Regions from separate parts of the Homo sapiens genome. Here region 1 is linked to region 2. The links are contacts of gene promoters, found by promoter capture Hi-C in blood cells and fetal thymus (Javierre and others, 2016). All regions are on one chromosome and are shown on one strand. The core of a region is centred on a gene start or on the middle of the fragment in contact, and the rest is flanking DNA. Distances in the headings are between cores, read along the strand shown. Region 1 has its middle 27 kb from the start of PTPRQ. Region 2 holds the start of CCDC59 (coiled-coil domain containing 59).

The links. The method cuts DNA at HindIII sites, captures the fragments that hold promoters and counts their contacts. A CHiCAGO score of 5 or more calls a contact.
Region 1: a fragment that was not itself captured here is called in contact with the fragment with the promoter of CCDC59 in region 2 in 2 of 17 cell types (neutrophils and total B cells); the score reaches 7.8 in neutrophils.

The regions. Positions count from the first base shown.
Region 1 is chr12:80,413,932-80,420,939 of GRCh38, reverse strand. No RefSeq gene overlaps it. Among named protein-coding and RNA genes, the nearest start is that of PTPRQ, 27 kb to the left of the region's middle. The HindIII fragment of the contact is 5,068 bases long and covers 2,498-7,008 here.
Region 2 is chr12:82,354,742-82,361,616 of GRCh38, reverse strand. CCDC59 (coiled-coil domain containing 59) reads left to right here and starts at 3,230. Exons shown (of 4, transcript NM_014167.5): 1 at 3,230-3,394; 2 at 4,348-4,657. The coding sequence starts at 3,241. METTL25 (methyltransferase like 25) reads right to left here and starts at 3,088. Exons shown (of 12, transcript NM_032230.3): 1 at 2,793-3,088. The coding sequence starts at 3,051. RefSeq lists enhancers at 2,300-2,860, 2,791-3,350, 2,861-3,421. The HindIII fragment of the contact is 1,548 bases long and covers 1,918-3,465 here.

The DNA of each region.
Region 1 (7,008 bases), core at 3,782-6,281, 1.9 Mb after region 2:
TCTGTGTCTGGAGCTAAATTGTCAACAGTTATTTTATTACCATGGTGTAAAGCCATGGTCACATTTGCCCCTCCTTCAATTACAATATGTAGTCCATCAAACACTTCAACATTGGGCATTTGAACAAATAAGATTACAGAGGTACTATGACTTTCATAGGGGATAACAATCCAGACTGGTTTGGGTTCTGAAAGATAAAAACAAGATTTATAATTAGTACCTTTTAAAGGTCAATCATATTTCTCTGCATTTTATCTAGCATGTTCCAGAATTTGTGAGAATATAAATGTTTATGCATTAAACTTATGTCTACTGTGTTAGCAATAGACAGAGAAAAAAGGTAGATATTCTGACAGGCTATACATACATATATACTGAAAGTACATAATTAACTTTCATTTATTCATTATCAATAACAATCGCAAGAAACACAAATCTGAGATTTTTTCATTATTTTTTACCTTTTAATCTATTTATTAAGTAAATGTTTTTGAGAACCTATATACAAGGATTAGTGCTCAAATAAAGTAAATAAGGCCAGGTTCTTGCTTTCAAAGAGTTCTCAATCTCAGGAAAGAGATTTATAGATTATTAACTAGAATCTCAAATAGACCTGAGCTAGTGACATGAAAAAAACTTGCTTAGAACAGAGGAGGAAATCACCAATGTCAGCAGAAATAATTGGGGAAGGCTTTCCAGAGTTAAAGATGTTTTATCTGAGTCTTGAAAGAGTACAAGTTTACCAGAAACAGTACATGTGAAGGGGAAAAGGGAGTAATGAAGGAATTCCAGGAAAAAAAGAAAATCAGGGGCAAGGCATAGAAACCAAAAAGCACATTGTCATGTGTTCAAGGAATACCAAGTTCTTTTAGCCCTTTAATAGCAGGGTATTCTTTGGCAAGTTACTTAGCCACTCTGCCTTGGTCTTCTTCTCTAAAATGGGAAGGAGACTAGCATCTACATTGCAGAGTCACTGTGCTGATTACATAAGAAATTGCATTCATATATAAAGTACTTAGAGTAGTGTCAGGCATGCAGCAGGCACTCTGGGTGGTTAAAAGACAGGCTGCATGAGAGGAATGAGACTGGGCATACAAGGGCCACCTCTGAGGCTGAATGTGTCTGTAAGGGGCTTTGCATGCCATGCTATGGAGGTCAGACTGTATCCTGGAGGCAACAGGGATTTTGAGCAGGCATGTAATTTCATTTTTAGAAACACATTTTTGGCAACAGTTTGGAGGAAGGATTCATTTACATTTTACACTCTCCTTGAACTCTGCTAAAGATTTTGATTGTACCTCAATTCTCTACTGTGCTATTTAAAGCAGATTTAAAATTTGAGATGATTTCTAGTAACATTATTTCTTTCTCAGGTCAATTTTAATTTCAATTCGATTTGTGGGTTATGGGGATAGCATCCAATATTTCCTTAAGCCTGCATTTCTCCCAAGCAGATATCTTTTCCTAAAATATACAATCTGAAAATGAATTTTTTCCCTCCAGAGCATAATTAGATGGCCTTTCCTTTTCAGTTTTATTTGTGACATCTGGTTTGATACAATGGAAGTTGTTCCAAGTTACTGTTAAATATTTGATAATGTTATTCTGCTACTTTACCCAGAGCCAGTACTTTAGGAAAGAATGTCCACACACACCTATAATGAGAATTTCAGAACATAAAATCAGTGCATTAGCTCCACAAATTTTTGTGAGCTGGAACTTGCAAACTTTTTGCCTTTTCAATTCTTGCTGGTGATGAGGAAATGTTCAATAAATGAACCATAACCAGTTCCATATGGTGTACTACTGGGTTTCGAGGCAGTTTTATCATAGTTTTCCTTCTCCAGTTATATTATGTTAACTTTTATTTTTCCGTCATCACTAATATTTTCTGTGGGTTTTCTCTTTAAATTCTGCATAGCCCCCTTCAGTTATAAAAGTCCTACAGTAACTATGAGTTTCCCAAGACAAGAGTAACATCCCACACATATCTAATACATCTGAATCTGTGGACAATGATCTATGAAAGCTTCCAAGTATGGCTTAAGCAGGAATTAAAAGATCTTGGGATGGTAAATGAGTGACAAGTATAATCATAGAACCAATTCACTTCCATGTTCTTGGGCACTGAAGACATTTTCTAAAAAGAGAGGTGACTTTAAATAGGCATGGTCTAATGTAGGTTCTAAAAGTATGTAAAAATCAATGTCATCCCCTCTAGTGAGTAAGCATGGGATTTTCGATCATTTCCACCTGTCCTAGAAAATAAGCCAAGCTGTGTCATGCATGACACTATAATCACCAAGGCTGGAAAGGTGTAGAATAGGACAGAGTTCTGTCTTGTCTTAAAAATTATATCCTGATCTGGAAAAATCATATGAGAAAAGATTTCACAAAAAAAAGAATAAAAGAAACATATTGCCACATACTGGCGACTTTCGTCAAGTTTCTACCTCGGACTGTGATTTCTATCCTTATCCGCTCTCCTGTAAAAGCTTTATCAAAAGAAGTGGTAAGATCAGGGGCTATACAAGATTTTTTTTTCAGTATGAGGTGAACTGAACTAGGCCAATTTCAAAGCCTTTTATTATAGGCAAGGTAGAACAAAGTCTGAGGGATGCTCCTATCATAAAATGTATTCTCCTGTGTCAAGAGGGGAAAAAAGGAAATTCAAACACCAACTCTCCAATAGTTCTTTTTCCCTCAAGAAAACCTGGGTATAGTTAATTCCTCCAACAAAGAGAGATCACACAGACTGCTGAAATGGCTTTACTTCCCACTATGCATGGCCATAGCTCCCCAAGGCCACCACTCCACTCCTATTGAGAAATAAAAATCACAACACACACTGTCATAGCACTTATTTGGTGCCAGGCACCAAGTCCTTAAATTACATTACTTTCATAAAACAGATAAGATTATGATTATTATTCCCATTTTAGAGAGAAAGAAGCTGAGGACCCAAAGGGCCTGAGTGACTTTGCAAAGGATGTAAGAAGCTGCTAAATCATGGAGCTGGAATACAAACCCAGGCAATTTGTTTCCATGGTCTGTGCTCATAAGCACTGCCTTCTTCCTAAGGGCACATTTTATGGTTCAGGTGCACAATCATAGCTAGAGATCAAGTTCTGCTGGTTATGTTCAGGACAAATTAGAGAGAGGCACAGACAGATAAGTTTCAAAGGGGAAAGGGAAAAAAAAGTATGTGTAAATTATATTTTCTTCTACATGCCCATAAAAGGCAAATGCCTCTCTTGCTTGACTATTTCAAAGTATATGGCAGAGAGAGAAATACAATGTGGTAAATTATATGTATCAATAAATATCTGTTGAATGAATGCATGCAAAAAAACTTGTTCCTATGCACCTTGGGACAGGTTACTATTTGCTTTAGGATTTTTGAGGCAATACAAATGATGCCTGATAAATAATCTGGTGATGCTAAATCTGATAGCAAGCCTACGAACTGGATAGAACACCCACGAGAAATAGTGGAGTGCTTGAAGGAATTAAAGATAATTACCCACAGGGAAAGAAAATATAGGAACCAGGGACACCATATGAATGTCTCTAAACATTTGCAGCCTGTCGTGTGAACCATAGATTGGGTTTGCTTTGTGATGTTCTAGAGAGTAGACTAGGTCCATGATGGGGAAAATTTTGGAAATGAATTACAGAAGCCCTGAATGACCAGAGACACTGTCCTGGGAATTATATATCATATGAGAGCATTGGCAAGATCTCTGTCCTAACTTCAAACCCCAGAATGCTATTCTTCTTAGGATTTGCATGTTAATATGTGTTTCTGCATCCATGTTGAATACCAGTTTGACAAACAATTGAATTACATAGAGCTAGGAACTCTATTTAGGCTGGAGATACGCAGCTGAACAAGATTTCACAAGAGCTCTAGAAACAGAGGCAAAACAAGTTTACATTTTAGATGGCAGATGGATGAAATATGCTAAGTACCCTGGAGGCAAAGAATTATGAGGCTTTTGATTTTGACCTGGAAGGAAATTTAGAAATAATATATTAAATGTCTCAAGTTTTTGAGAAAGAAAACAGACCCTGGGATAACATGGGGACATTCTCTAACCTCAGACTGCTAAAACATGAACTAAGGAGAAAAATCATTTTCCAACTTCACAGTTTACTCCTACTGCTATGCCAATAATTATTTAGTGGGTTGTTTTATAGGCATTAAATAATTCTTCTTGGTAATATCTCTTTCTTAGTTTTCTCTTTTATAACTACTTCTTATTATAATTATCTTTAGGTAGTTTTCTTAGAAATTTAAGCATGGAAGTTCCAGACATAAATTTAGTTTTAGTCTTTGGATGATAAAATAGGAAGATCTAGCACTGGTTGAGTGTGGACATTATCATTGCATAATTTTTTGGACCAATTTTTTTTTTCAGCTAGAATCACTGTAAGGTCCAATAATTTTCTCTTCTTCAGTGTCATCACCAAGCACCCAAATTACTCAAGTTAAAAGCCTAAGTTTCTCCCTTTCTTCATTCATCGCAAGCAGCCCATCTTGGACTTCCTACTTCCAGGGATTAAATTATCAATCTTGAATCTATTCATGACTTCACTTGGATCTGATATGGATTTAATCTGAATGTAGATCTCATGGCCATCTTGTGAAGGTTCCCACTGAAGAATTATATGGTCTTCTCCCACATCTTCAGGTTTTACATAAACTTTCTGAGGTGGATTAATACCTTAAGTAAACAAATAAATACATACACACATCTTAGCTTATTAGTTAGCATTATTCATGCTATTGAGTGAAAATAATTCAATATTAATGTTCAAAGTAAATTTTACAGTTTGTTATGTCAACATGTCTTGAAAAGCACTCAAGTTTTGAGAAAAGTGTATTCTTATTACTATGCAAAATTTATTAAAATGGTTAAATGTAAAAATTACAAGTCAAGGGGAAACAAATATAATCCTCAAGTGTTTGGCAAATTCTTCATACTTTCAAGAGTGCCATCAGAGTAATGTTCCCATTATTGAGATTATTCATGTTTTAATCAAATATATATGGGCACCTACCAAGTGCCAGGCACTCTTCTAGGCAGGTAGAGTACATCAGTAAAAACTAAAGATCCTTGTCCTTATGGAGTTCATATTCTAATAGGTGGAATAGATAATAGCAATACATAAAATAAGTACGTATGTTATATAGAACTTCAGAGGTGATAAGTGCTGCAGAAAAAGTAAAAAGTAACCAGGGTGAGGGAGATGAAGAGTGTGGTGGCTTTAAGGAGGAAGTTGTGGTATGAAGTAGGGATTTCAGGGCAGATGTTTTTCAAAAGATAGGGTTTTCAGCAAAAAGGTGAAGGAGATTGGAGAGTTAGACATATGGATTTCTGGAAGAAGAGTATTAAAGCTGAAGAAACAGCTAGTAAAATCCCTAAAGTGGGAGCTTATCTGGTGTGTTCAAGGGTGGAAGGAAAGCTAGAATGAATGAAGGAGAGAATAAGATGAGGTCAGAGGCAAATAGAAAGCCAGTTCATGCAAGTTCTCAAAGGCGTTTGCTCCAAGTCAAATGGGTAGCAACTACTGAGTTATATGCAGATGCATGATCATTCCTATTTTTAAAGACTCACTTGGGCCGTGACATTAATAACAGACCACATGGAGGGCCAGTGGTAGAAATAGGGAGCCAGCCCAATAATCCAGGTGAGGTGGAATGGTTGCCTGGATGAAAACAGCACTCAGGGAGGTGGGGAGATATAGTGTGACTCTGGATTTATTTTGAAGACAGAACAAACAAGATTTCTTGACAGGTTGGGAATGGGTTGTGAGAGAAACAGAAGAGTCAAGAACAACTTCAAGGCTTTTGACTAAACAACTGGATGAATAAAATTACCATGAACTGAGAAGGGCTGTGGATAAAGCAGATTTGGGTAGAAACACCTGGAGTTCAGTTTTGGGCATGTTAAATTTAAAACATCTCATAGATAACCAAATGAGCAATAATGCATACGCAGTTAGATGTTTGAATGTGGAGTTTGGGACAAAAGTCTAGGCTTTATATAAAGTTATATAGAGATATAACTTTATGAGTCATTGACATATAGATGTCTTTAAAGTTTCAGAGCTGGTATTTATTATAAAACAGTTGTAACTTTATACTACTTTTCTGATTTTTGAAAGGTGTGATATTTATTAGAAATATAGAGGAAATTAGCAGGTTATGCTCACTGTTCATGCATAATATCATTGGAGAATCTTCTTGATACTTTATAATAATAACTGAAGATGATACTTCAGCCTATTTCCTTGCACCGTTTCCTTGAATACCAAGCCTTCTGATTTTTTTCCTATCATACAGTTTTCTGGAAATTGTAAATGTTTTCCTTATAGTATTGTTTATCCTATAGTATGTTTTTCCTGATCTTTTAATAGTTCTCAGCTACAATAATCATTAGTTCATATCTCTAAGGATAATTATGCAATTTTAAACTTTTTAGTAGTTTTACTTTAAAAATCTTTAAAGAATTCTCTATGATTTTTATAGTTTGCCGAAACTATTATTTGAACTTTTATCCGTTTTAAAGTTGACTTCTTTATCAGTACAATTTAATATCACATTTTAACTTCTCAGGAAAATATTCTGGGTGGAACCCTTAGTCTGCATCCCATATCTTAATTTCACAAAACTGTAGCTGATGTTTAAGTTAATTATTTATGTAAAATTATCAGAAAATGCCAGAGTAATCCAATTAGAAACACTATCCAATAAGATTCCAGGGTGAAACAACTTCAGAAAATTATTCTTATATTCTTGCAAAACCTAAAAATCTATTTAAACATTTACTGCAGTGGAGGACTTAGATGTAATCTACCGAATGCCACATATAAGCAGAGATTGAGGAAACGCTGGGATTTGGTGGGTCTGTGATAGCGCTGAATTTGCTTACAAAATTGTCTGTGCATGTATTTGCATTTTCATAAGAGTTAATTTTTTTTAAATTCTCAAGAGGCTCCATG
Region 2 (6,875 bases), core at 1,981-4,480:
CCGGCCCACCAGCGCTGCTCTTGAATTCTCACCGGGCCTCAGCTGCCTCCCTGCGGGGCAGGGCTCAAGACCTGCAGCCCGCCATGCCTGAGTCCCCCTCCCCCCCACCGTGGGCTCCTGCGTAGCCCAAGCCTCCCCAACGAGCACCGCCTCCTGCTTCACAGTGCCTGGTCCCATCGACCGCCCAAGGGCTGAGGAGTGCGGGCGCACGGCATGGGACTGGTGGGCAGCTCCACCTGCAGCCCCAACGTGGGATCCACTAGGTGAAGCCAGCTGGGCTCCTGAGTCTAGTGGGGACTTGGATAAACTTTATGTCTAGCTAAGGGATTGTAAATACACCAATCAGCACCCTGTGTCTAGCTCAAGGTTTGTAAATGCACCAATCAGTGCTCTGTGTATAGCTGATCTAGTGGGGACTAGGAGAACTTTCATGTCTAGCTCAGGGATTGTAAATGCACCAATCAGCACCCTGTCAAAATGGACCAATCAGCTCTCTGTAAAATGGACCAATCGGCAGGATGTGGGTGGGGTCAGATAAGAGAATAAAAGCAGACTGCTGGCGCCAGCAGCGACAACCCTGTGGAAGCTTTGTTCTTTCACTCCTTGTGATAAATCTTGCTGCTGCTCTCTCTTTGGGTCCACACTGCGTTTGTGAGCTGTAACACTCACCGCAAAGGTCTGCAGCTTCACTCCTGAAGCCAGCGAGACCACGAACCCGCCAGAAGGAAGAAACTCCGAACACATCCAAACATCAGAAGGAACAAACTCTGGACACGCCGCCTTTAAGAACTATAATACTCACTGAGAGGGTCTGTGGCTTCATTCTTGAAGTCAGTGAGACCAAGAACCTAACAATTCCGGACACAAGACCATACTCCTTGTGAGTCCCTAGTGGAAATCTATTTCAGTCTCCTTACAGCTCCTTAAACATACCTTGTAGGCTCCCTCGTCAGGGCATTTCTGTTTCCTGTTGTCACTAAATGGACTGCTTTCCCTCCAGAGATCTTCATGGCTCGGTTTTTTTCTTATCTTTTCAGCGTTAGAGTCACCTCAGTGAGGTCTTGCCAGGACAACTTACTTAAAAATGCAAACATTTTCCTCTTCTTCCCCTTACTTACTCCTCCCTTATCTAGTATACTTTTTTTCTTACAGCACTAAAAAAGTTTCAAATCAGATGACCCAGGTTTGAGAATCTTCCATTATCAGCTATATCCCTTGCAAATTAACTCCTCAAGTTATAATTCCACAAATCGACAATAACAGAACCTATCTTGCAAGGCTGATGTAAAGATTAAAAGAGAAAATACACATGAAGACACTTAGCACACTACAGGGTATATAGTAAATATCAAATAATCCAATTATTATTAGAATATGTAAGACAATCTGACTCTACCATTGTCTGGAGACCAGGCTAAACACGTATTAAAGTCTTACACTCTAAACTTGAGAGTAGTTTCATTTTATTTATTTAAAACTAACATGAGTAACTCATTAATTCCTCCATTCAACAAATATTCATCCAGTATCTAATGTATGCCAAGTATTTTACCAAGTGCTGGGAATACATCAGTTGACAAGTCAGACAAAGACTCTGCTCTTTTGGAGTTTAAGTAAAATTGTCATATCATAAGTGCCATATATTTATTATGAGAGCAAACTGAAGAAGTGCCTAACTTTTCAATAACAATTACTTAAAAAAACAACAACAGTATTTACCAAGTGCTATTATAAGAGGTCCCTCTAGTGATGCTTTGCATTCAGAGAATGCTCAATGAATAAAGTTCACTAGTAAGGGTAACTTTGGGAAGTCTAGAAGGAAAGTAAAAATCCCAGAAGCCTGTTGGTGTCCATCATTCTACTTCCAAAATATGCTTGCCTGAGAAGAATCTACATTTCTTGAGGGTAGGAAAAGCTTGAGCCTACAAAAATTCAAGACACATATTAGGTACTTTAAAATAGTTTTTAAATGAAATAGTGACTATCCGAATACCATCCTAGTCCAAGATACAATCATCTGTTGTACTACTGAGGTAGTCTCCTAACTGGCCTCTCAGCTTCAGCTTTTGCCCTAGTCTATTCTTCAAATAATTCACAGTTATCTTTTCAAATGTGAATTAGGTCACTATGTTGCCTAAATAATCCCAAGGGTTTCCGTCACACTTAAAATCCAAAATCCTTCCAAGGCCTAGAAAGGCCTGTGCCATCTGGCCTCTGCTTGCCTCCCGTCCTGCACCTGCAGCCCCTCACCTGGCTAGAGCCAAGCCTAGCCTGCGGTTCCCACCGCCTGCAACCCCTCCCTGTGGCTCTGCAGCTAGTGCCTTCTCATGTTCCTGACCTCCTAAATTGAGGCAGCCTCCTTACACAATCCCTACCACATTACACTGTTTTTATTTTCTACTTCATTACCACCACTTGAAATTATCTTTATTAACTGTTGAGTAATCTTCCACCACATGCTGGCATTTATAAAACCTGTGAGAGCACTGCTCCCCTAGTTTCCCTAGCGTCAATTATTATGGAATTACTAGATGAAGGAACTCCCCTGCCCTGTTTCCTGCTTTCTTTAAATTGTGGACATACACAAGCACCCAAAGAAAGAGTGATCCTGATTCCAAAGAACATCCCCACCCCACCCCTCAACTAATCCGACCCCTCCTCGGTTTCCCAGCGGGCCGCCCCGCCTCCGCCGCCACGCACCTGGTTCTGCTGGCTTCCACCAGGGGGCTCGCTTCGTCTGCCGGGACCTTCTCCTCCGCCTCCCTTCCCGCCCCGCCTACCCCACCACCCACCTGCTTCCCACTCTGCTTCCACTAGGGGGCGCGTCTCTGAGGGCAGGGCCTCCGTCTCCGACGCTGACTTCCTCAGCGCAGCCAGCACTGTCTCCGGTGGCAAGTCGACCAGCTCCTCCCACACGGATTCTGTGTAGAAATCCACGGTATGTGCATTGGAAATGGACAGGGCATCCCTCAGGAACTGCAGCAGTCCCTGCAACTTGGCACGCAGCGTGGGCAGGTCCGGGGTCACCGGGAGAGGGCAAGAAGCCGCCATGACGCTCACCCTCCGAGGCTGTAGGTGGCGCAAACATGGCCGTGAGGCGCCAGCTCGGCCCAAATTAGCACAGGCAGGCTCAGTAGAGCTCCGAGCCGGATTCCTTCTGAGCGATTGATTGCTTCGGCTTGGTGACGTATTTTGTGGGCGTCCGTCGTGGTCTTCTGATGACGCAGTTAGTCGGCTGCAATGGCGCCGGTGAGGCGGTCCGCGAAGTGGCGGCCTGGTGGTATTGAGGCGCGTGGTGAAGGGGTTTCCACTGTCGGGTACAGGAATAAGAATGTGAGACAGAAGACATGGCGGCCTAACCACCCGCAAGCCTTCGTGGGGAGCGTTCGCGAGGGTATGTAAGAAGGCAACCATTTGCAAATCCTCAGGCTTGCTAAGTTTTAGGATATAAGATTCGCTGAAGCTTGGAAGAAGGATTTAGGAACCAGACCCGGTCCTACTTGGGGCAAGGGAATTCATTCCTGAGCCCGCTAAAGCTGTGAGCTTCGCAGAGCTCTAGATAGGAAGACGGAGCAGTGTTGCTATTATTTAAACGTCTTTTCTGACGTAACCCTGTATTTCATCAGAACTTTTTTCCTATATTTTTCCTGAGAAACTGAGCAGAGAGAGTCTATGACCCTGTGAACTCTTGCGCATGTGGTAAGGTAAAGGATAGAGAGGAGGACAGGGCCAGAAACACTGCTCCGAATTCTTCCTTATTACAAATACCCGAGGCCCTCCAGCCTTCGCTTTAATTTGTGTTTGTCATTTTGTATTGCTGTCTGTAAGGTCTCTTAGATCCCACTTGGAATATATAAATGTTAAATTCAGTCTTCCGATAATTGCTAGCTTTTCAGACAACCATACACTGTCTTTTTCTTTCGTGTTGAAACATTTTCGAAAACATGTAGTTTGTCCAAGATACTAGATGTGGCATTTTCTTTCCTATTTTTTAAGCATTTATTGAAGGCTCAGATTAAGTGTTTTAGATGAACTAAGGAATTTGTTTTGATTTGTGAATACAGCTGTAAACTCAAGTTGTGCAACAGTCTGAACTGGTCAGTTTTTCTTTGAGATTCTTACTTGGATTTCCGCATGACTGTTAGCCTGGTCTTTTTGCAAAGGGCCAACTTACTATGCAATCCATCAGCTTAAATTTGTTGCTTGAAATAATTTTTTAAAGCAAAATATAATACTAGAATCTGAATGTGATGACGTAAAAAAAGTTTTCATTTGTAATTAACAGCTCCATTCTTCGTTCAACTTCTTTTCTCTGAAAGTAATTTTGGATGATATTCCTCAATGTAGGACAAGGCTTTGCTTTTCGAAGAAAACTGAAAATACAGCAAAGTTACAAGAAATTGCTACGGAAGGAAAAGAAGGCTCAAACGTCACTGGAATCTCAATTCACAGATCGATACCCAGATAATCTGAAACATCTCTATTTAGCTGAAGAGGAAAGACATAGGAAGCAAGCAAGAAAAGTCGACCATCCTTTGTCAGAACAAGTTCACCAGCCGTTGCTTGAAGAACAGTGTAGCATTGACGAGCCTTTATTTGAAGATCAGTGTAGCTTTGACCAGCCTCAGCCAGAAGAACAATGTATTAAAACAGTAAAGTATGTATTTTCTTCATTTGAAATCCTTTAAGTGTTGTTTTATTATTTAAAAGTACTATAGGATAATTTATATAGGAATTGTATTTTTTCTTATTTAACACATTTTAGAAGTCACGGTTTAATTAGGGAAACATTTTCATGGAGGCTCTATTTTTAGCTTCAATAACTGAATTAGGCTGGTTTAGCCTAATTGACAAAGTAACGTAATGGGAATTAAGAGCTCTGGAATTTGGGTTTCTTCCTCTCAAGTACAGGTGGTAACTTGATTGGACCATATGTTATGACTATATTTTTGAAAAATAACTTCTGAGAGGTGTTATAATTTTAGTCATTAACAGTATGGGTTCTAGAGCCAGACTCAACATGTTAGTGCCCCAGTGACCTCTTCTTTAAAATGGGAAAAATAACACTATGTCCTCTTTAAATTGGGAAAGATAATACTGTAATGAATATATACTTCAGAGCTGCCATGTTGCACAGCTCCAGAATGGATTACTCACATAAACTCAGGTGTTCCTAAGGTGTTTCATGACATTGTTGTGAAGACTCAGCGAGTTAATGTATATGAGGATCTTAAAGGGTATATATGGTACGTGGTTAGTGCTCTTGAGCGTTAGCTACTACTATTAATCTGGATTTTCTGCAGAGGACCAGAAATGGGTTGCAATTGCAAATGCACAGCTCCGTGACGCTTTGGTTTTATAAGAGTTAACTTATAAAAAACTATCGCTGCATACTTAAAGTTAAAAAACAATGCTAAAATCTAAAATTGCAAGAAGCTGGGTATTAACTTGGGAGCATAATTTTTTACTTCATTAAAACCGTATCTTTTAAAGTCGTGAGCTATTTGCGCTAAAAATAACAGGAAATGGGACCACGGGGGGTAAAAATGTAATTGGGGATGAAGGCAGAGACACAAAAAGTTTACTACTTTTGGTAGGCTTGATCATTATATTGTTAAATAATCAGTATAAAGTTCAGGGAAAAGATTAGCAGTAGAAATGTAGATTTGAGTTATTCTCTGATAATTGAAGTAAGGAAGTTTAAATCATGAGAAAGGAAGGTAAAAAATCATGCTTTTAAAGATTACGGTTTATTTTGGGGTGGAAACAGGGAAAATATTGTCATTGAGGAAGTTAAGCTTTTCAGGACTGGAGAAAGAGAAATACAGTGACAGCTCAGTCCACAGAGAAAAGTTGTGAGGGATTAGTCAGCTATCAAATATTGTGGTCCCCCGTTATCTGTTTGGAAGATGTTCCAAGACCCCCAGTGGATGCCCTGAAACTGCAAATGGTACCAAACCCAGTTTCTGTCAATTGGAATGTATTTCTGTTAATGTCTTTTACTTGGGAATTTAATGCCTTTTCCATCTTAAATCACGTACTGTGGCCATAACTTTTGCAGTTTGAAGTATGACAGCAAAACTAGCATGAATTTATTTTTCCTTCACAATTTGATGTATAGAAGATTTTTTTTAAAACCATAGATCTTAGCAACTTCAACATACGATTTTTTTTCCTTCCTTATTAAGTCAAGAACTTTTACCTTTTCACTTAAAGCAAACACTCAGTGTGGTGTACAATTTAAAACATATGAATTGTTTATTTCTGGAATTTTTCAATTTAATATTTTTGGACCTCTGTTGACTGCAGGTAACTGAAACCGTGGAACAGGGAAACCATGGATAAGGGGTGTGCTACTGTACTATAAAGTTGAAGGTGAATAGGACTGAGGACAGGTCTCTGGATTTGTGGACTAGGCAGTCACTAGTCACTAGTCCAAAGTCGCTAGTGATTAGTAGCTATTAAAATATTATATTGTAGTTACAGAGTATAGTGAAAAGTTGAATGATAGAGGAAAGTAAAGTTATTACTGAATCAAGGATGCTGAGGAAATGAATGGAATTCCAAGTAGTTGGATTAGCCTTGACAAAAAGGACATCTTCAGAGAGGTGAGAAGTAGTTAAAGATAGAACAGTTCAAAATGGTATCTAGATCCAAGGTATGGTGATTCATGACTAGGTAGGTAAAATGGAATAGAGAGGAGGGGCTCAGAAAACTTCGAGATTAAAGTTCATATATACACATAATTTTCTTAACATCCTTAAACAACAAGTTTAATTCTTTTTTCAGTCTGGCATTTCTATCATTCATATACTGGTTTCATTACTTTTAAAAGTTTTTTTTTTTAACATTTTAGGATTTTTCATAGCTTTCTA